Regions from separate parts of the Homo sapiens genome. Here region 2 is linked to region 1. The links are contacts of gene promoters, found by promoter capture Hi-C in human tissues and cell types (Jung and others, 2019). All regions are on one chromosome and are shown on one strand. Each heading gives the region's core, a stretch centred on a gene start or on the middle of the fragment in contact. The rest is flanking DNA. Distances are from core to core; before and after follow the strand shown.

Evidence for each region. Contacts are between HindIII fragments. The study calls those that stand out against the background at their distance.
Region 2: a contact is called between a fragment that was not itself captured here and the fragment with the promoter of ARHGEF7 in region 1, in 2 of the 25 tissues and cell types used here (aorta and small bowel).

What each region holds. Positions count from the first base shown.
Region 1 is chr13:111,113,979-111,116,678 of GRCh38, reverse strand. It overlaps ARHGEF7 (Rho guanine nucleotide exchange factor 7), which reads right to left and starts at 1,369. Exons shown (of 22, transcript NM_001354046.2): 1 at 988-1,369. The coding sequence starts at 1,152. ARHGEF7-AS2 (ARHGEF7 antisense RNA 2) reads left to right here and starts at 1,001. Exons shown (of 2, transcript NR_046667.1): 1 at 1,001-1,132; 2 at 1,761-2,700. RefSeq lists a silencer at 1,407-1,496. The HindIII fragment of the contact is 8,096 bases long and covers 1-2,534 here.
Region 2 is chr13:111,248,454-111,251,153 of GRCh38, reverse strand. The region is part of intron 8 of ARHGEF7 (Rho guanine nucleotide exchange factor 7); the gene reads right to left. Among named protein-coding and RNA genes, the nearest start is that of TEX29, 71 kb to the left of the region's middle. The HindIII fragment of the contact is 4,062 bases long and covers 1-2,700 here.

The DNA of each region.
Region 1 (2,700 bases), core at 120-2,619:
TAAAAACTGAAATCCTTCTTCCTAATTATGGTACACTTCAATTTCTATATTTAACACCTTTTAAATAACTGTTGATCTTAACGCTATATATTGGCCACCCCCACCCCCACCCCACCCCCCGAAGAAACACCCTGGGAATAAGATTTTAGTATTTTGAGCTACAGGGAGACATCGTTTTTAGAAACTCTCCTGCCTCCTCGGCCCTGCTGGCCGGCTTGTGGGCGATGAAAACAAACTTTAATCACTTCCAGAGATTCGGGTCAGGGTTCACACGCTCCAGCCTGGGAACCACCAGCCGGAAGGGAGAAGCAGTGCCTGCAGGACTAAAGGTTCTGTTCAGAACGAGGGAGGGACCTGAGAACGAAATCTAGAATTTTAACAAGCCTTGAAGAGTGCCAGGACTTAGACCCTGTGTCTGCCGTCCTCTCGGCTCGGATAGGTGGGGAATTTTCTCGAGGGGAAAGTAGTAGATCGTTTCACAGCGCAGCCCTCAGCTACAGATGCGTGCCTCTTTAAAAATACAGAGCAACCGGTCAATTAACCTGGGAGGCGAAACTCACGCAACGCCACCGGCAAGAACTGTCCACACAAAGCCAGCGGAGTGAGCCGCACCGCGTCGGAACGCGGTTTCCGATGCGGCTGCTGCCAGGGAGCGGGGCCGGCCCCCCACGCGGAGGGGCAACTTAGCGTTCGGGCGGCGCAGAAGCCCCGTCTCCTCGCTGCGGTGCACTCTCCTTCCCGGGGACCCCCGCCGCCCGCGCCGCCCCTCCCCCCGACCCCGCTCCCCGGCCCCCTCCCCCTGCCCCGCACACAATGGCGCCCCCCGAGCTCCCGCCACGGTCCTGGCGCCGGCCGCGCCGCCGCTCCGCGCACAAAGGAGGGCGCACGGGTTTCCCGAGCGCGGCCGGCCTCAGGTGCTCCGCGCGCATCCCGGGCCGCAGCGGGCCGGACCGGGGGGCGCGGGCGGGGGCGCGGGCCGGGACTTACTTTCTCGATGGTCCCGGGGAGCAGGCGCTCCAGCAGCCTGCAGAGGACCACCCCATCCTTCAGCGACGCCTGCAGAAAGCCCTCCGGGTCCGAGATGGTTTTTTTGGGCGACTCCAGCACCCCCAGAGTGATGAGCCACGTAACGGTTTGCTCGGCGGAATTCATCGCTGCGGCCCGGGAGGCAGGCGGGGAGGGGCGCGCGCCTTCACCTCGGAGCGGCGGCCCGGCCCGCGGCCCCCGCCGCCGCCGCCGCCGCCTCGCCCATCGAGCGGCCGGCGCCGGCGATTGGCTCGGCGCGGCCCAGCAGGTCCGGCCCGGCCCGCTTCTCCGTGCGCCCCGGCCCGCTGTCAGGCGCCTTCTCAGGAGCGGCTCGGGAACCTGCGGGCGCCCGCCGCCGCCCCCCGGCCTCGGCCGCCGTCGCCCAATGACATCACCGCCAGGAGAAGAAAGACGCGGCCGTCCGCCCGGCCCGCGCCCGGCCCGCGCCGCCCCGCGCCCTGCGCAGCCTCCGCTCCAGGCCGTGCGCGGGGCGGCGGCGGCGGCTGGGAGCGGGCGGGGAAGGGAAAGGGGAAGGGGAGCGGGGAGCGGATGGGGAGGGAGCCGGGGGTGGGGGCGGGCGCGCACCTGCGCTTACCTGCCCCGGGCCCGCCGTGCGCCCCGCGCCCCTGGCCGGGGCACTCGGAAGCCTTTGTTTATGTTTTGAATTCGTGAGCGTTGAAATGATGAAGTACTTCCCAGAATGCTCTTTTTATTTTTGCCGGTTTTATTTCAAGGTGGCGGGGACAGGCTGAAAACGAGACGTTTGTTTCGCTTTGCTACCTTGCAAGCCGGTCATGACGGAACAGAAATGATGGTTCCATCTGAAGCCATATGGGTCTGAATCGGGAGGAACCGACTCTCCGGAGCGCGGCGCCGACCTCACCGGCAGGGCAGGGGCCTGCGCGACTCTGCTCTAGACGGACGGTGACGCTTCAGACCCTGCCGGGGGAAGGTCAAGGAAACGGCGTGGCCTGAAGTGGGGCTGTGCAGAGGGCCGGGCCGGGCCGGGCCGGGCGCCTGGCTGCGTCTCGGGGACGCCGAAGATCTGGGCTGTGAAAGCAGCAGGCCGAACCTGGAGAGCCCAGACGGCAAGTGTCGCGTCATGCGCGAGCTTCCTCGAACAACTGATGACACGCACACATTGACATGCGAGGAAGAAATGGAGCCTCTTCTTAAAAGGACACGAGTCTCCACTCACTCCATCCACTGTCCCTGGGCGCTCCCCCAGTTTGCTCGCTATGACCCGCGGGCAGTTTAACAAGCAAAGCACTTAGTCTATGCCAGGCACATACATTAATCCATTCAATGACAAAGGCTAGAAAGCATATAAAGCTTCCAAAAATAATCAGAGGCTTAAGTCGTCTCCCCCTGCCTTCTGCCGGTGGATTTCTCTTGCAATCACTAATTGCTTTTATTTCTAGCCTTGAGTTAAGTGGTTAAAATTTTCTTTGCAAATACAAAAAATATTCAAATGGCAGTATGAATTCTGGATTACGAGGACAATGTGCTCAGTGATAACAGCGACTGGTTAGGAACCGTCACAAAGTGCTGTCTACTGCCTCGCCTCCCATCATGGTCCCCTTTTACTGATCAGATGCCGAACAAGTGGCAGAGATAAGACCCAAAGCTCGGCTCCTACCAGGAAAGGCATACCTAACCCGTTTCCTACTGCTG
Region 2 (2,700 bases), core at 82-2,581, 130 kb before region 1:
GTAACTCTGGGTCGGCCCCTAGACAGCTTACAGGATGGGGGCTAGGTGTCACAAAGACCACCATGATCACAGGAACTTTCAGCCCCAACCAGCAACCTAAAGGGAGGACAAGGGGCTGGAGATCATGCCACTCAGCAATGTCCAGTGATCTAGTCAATCATGCATGTCTACCTAACAGAGCCTACATTAGAAACCACCAAGGACAGGGCTTGGAGAGATTTTGGGTTGCTGAAAGCACGGAGGTGCTGCACCCAGAGGGCCTAGAAACTCTGCTCCCATCCCTTACCCTACATCTTTCTTCTATCCATCTCATTCTGAGTTGCATCCTTCATAATAAACTGGTACCAGGAAGTCAAGCACTCTCCTGAGTTACATACATGGGTCATTCCAGCAAATTATCAAACCTGAAGGGAGTCATGGGAACCCTCAAATCTGTACTCAGTCAGGTAGGAGTATATAGCTTGGGCACCCCATTTGCAGCTGGGTTTGAAATGTGGCAGTCTCGTGGGAGACAAATGTCCGAATAGAACTGAACCACTGGAAACTCAGTGTCAGACAATTGACGAAGTGCTGGTGTGAGGAAAAACCTCCTCTCGTTTTTTGCCTGGTTACCTCCCATTTACCCCTCAGTGCTCAGTGATCTTCCCCTGAAGTTTGCTCTTGGTGCCTGATATGATTTCTTTCGTAAGAAGGTCTGCAATTGTAGCTTTCTAACTATTTATACAATTTTCAATTATCTGTCTCCCTCACCAGACTATAAGCTCCACCAGGACAGGCTCTATCAGCAGCCAGCCAGCATCACGCACGTGGTGGCAGCGTGTGCACAAGCGCCGAATGCACGCATACCTGAGAAAGCTGCTCTAGGCAAACTGGGCACATTCCAGCTATCACAACCTCACAACACAAATGACAGTGTGCCGCTACTAATGCAGCAAATGGCACAAGGGCATGGAAGGCAGATTGCAGTTTCTATTGTTTTGAACTGAAAGCCTAGACAAAGCATGCTTGCAAGGAGCCCTCTACAGCTGATGAAAGGAAGAACTGTGATTTGAAAAACTAAAAGGAAATGGGTTCTATAAATCTGGCTATAGCCAAATTACTCCTATCAAACTGACTCGCCTGCAAATAACATCGAAACTTTAAAAAACATATAGAAAGTAACTGCCTAGAGGCACTCAAAAGTAGCATGAAAGATAACAGAATCTTGGGACCCAAACTCACTATGCCAGTGGGAAAGTGAAGCTTGGGAACTGAACTGTGCAACACTGTCTGCCTTTTGTTGCCGAACAGAGAGCTGTCATTCCACAACCCTGTGTCATGGCCTCATCCATACGCCAGGTGCCCACAACTACAGAAGGCCACATAGCTCCCCAGATGGCCTTCCTCACAAAGTGCTCACAAGGAGATTTCTTGTGAGCCCCTAAATCTATCAGAACATATGTCCCCCACTAAAAACTAGCCCTAAAACCGAGTTCTATTGTATCTCACCCTGGCAATGTCAAGTACCAGCTTATCTTCATAGGTACAGACAAGGACAAGAGCAGAAATCACCCTTCCCGTGAAAGAGAACCCTGAGAAAAACGCACAACTGACTTTCCTCTACTCCCCCTTTCCCGTGTAAAATGCAGGCTTACTGAGGCCAATCGGAGGCTCACAACAATGTTTAAGCATCTGCCTCACTGCTCCCCAGCCTCCCTTTTTTCCCCTCCTGCTTGTTCTTTCCCCTTTAAATACTGAACTTCTCAAAGCTTTGGAAAAAGCACAAATGCTCCTGTTACCTGGCACGTCCTCAACTGCAGCTACGTAAACCTCTATCGATTGAGACCTGCCTGAATCACTTTTTAGTTAGCATCAGGTATATTCTGGGGAAGGATGGACATTTGGAAAAAAGAACGGGCAGGGCACCTCCTGCTTTCTCAACTATTAAGCTAATGGCAGCCAACTTTGTTATGTGGAACAGCTAAAACTCCAACAAAAATCCACAGGGTTTGGTTCTACCAGAGTTGCTGGGAAGCTGGGGGAAACCCACGGTGAGTGTGACCCTGAATTCTGTCTCTAAATTCTGCCCAAATCTCTGGCTGACGGCAGAACAGAACTTGCAAGGCCAACTTCAGATCAGCTGAGTCTAAAATAAGTGGACTGAGATTTGAGCATCTGCCAAAGGGAGAGTTGGCAATTTGAGCCTGACCAAGTTAACTGCCTGTCAAACAAGCAAATCAATACTCTTCAGGGAAACCTAACATGATCAAGAGTCTACAACCCACAGTAAACAGGACACAATTCAAAGTCACTAGAAATAAAAAGAATCATGAAGACGTAACCCATCCTCACAATAAAGAATCAGCAGATGGGACCTTAAAGCAGTTATTCTAATTATTGCTAAAGGATATAAAGAAAAATATTCTTGTAGTGAATGAACAAATATAAAATCTTAGCAGAGAACTAAACACTTTTTTTAAGCGAAACAAATTCTAGAACTGAAAAAAATTCTCAAACTAAAAACTTGTTGCACGGGGACGAACAAGAGAGTAGAGAGGCAGACAGTGAACACTTAGGACACAGCAGACGCCATTCAACCTGAAGAACAGAGCAGAGACCAGGTCAGAAAGCAACGAGCAAATCCAGGACCTCCAGCAAAAGGTCTACATGGGTGTAACTGGAGCCCCAAGGCAGAGTAGAAACAGTAAAGCAGCAAAATAT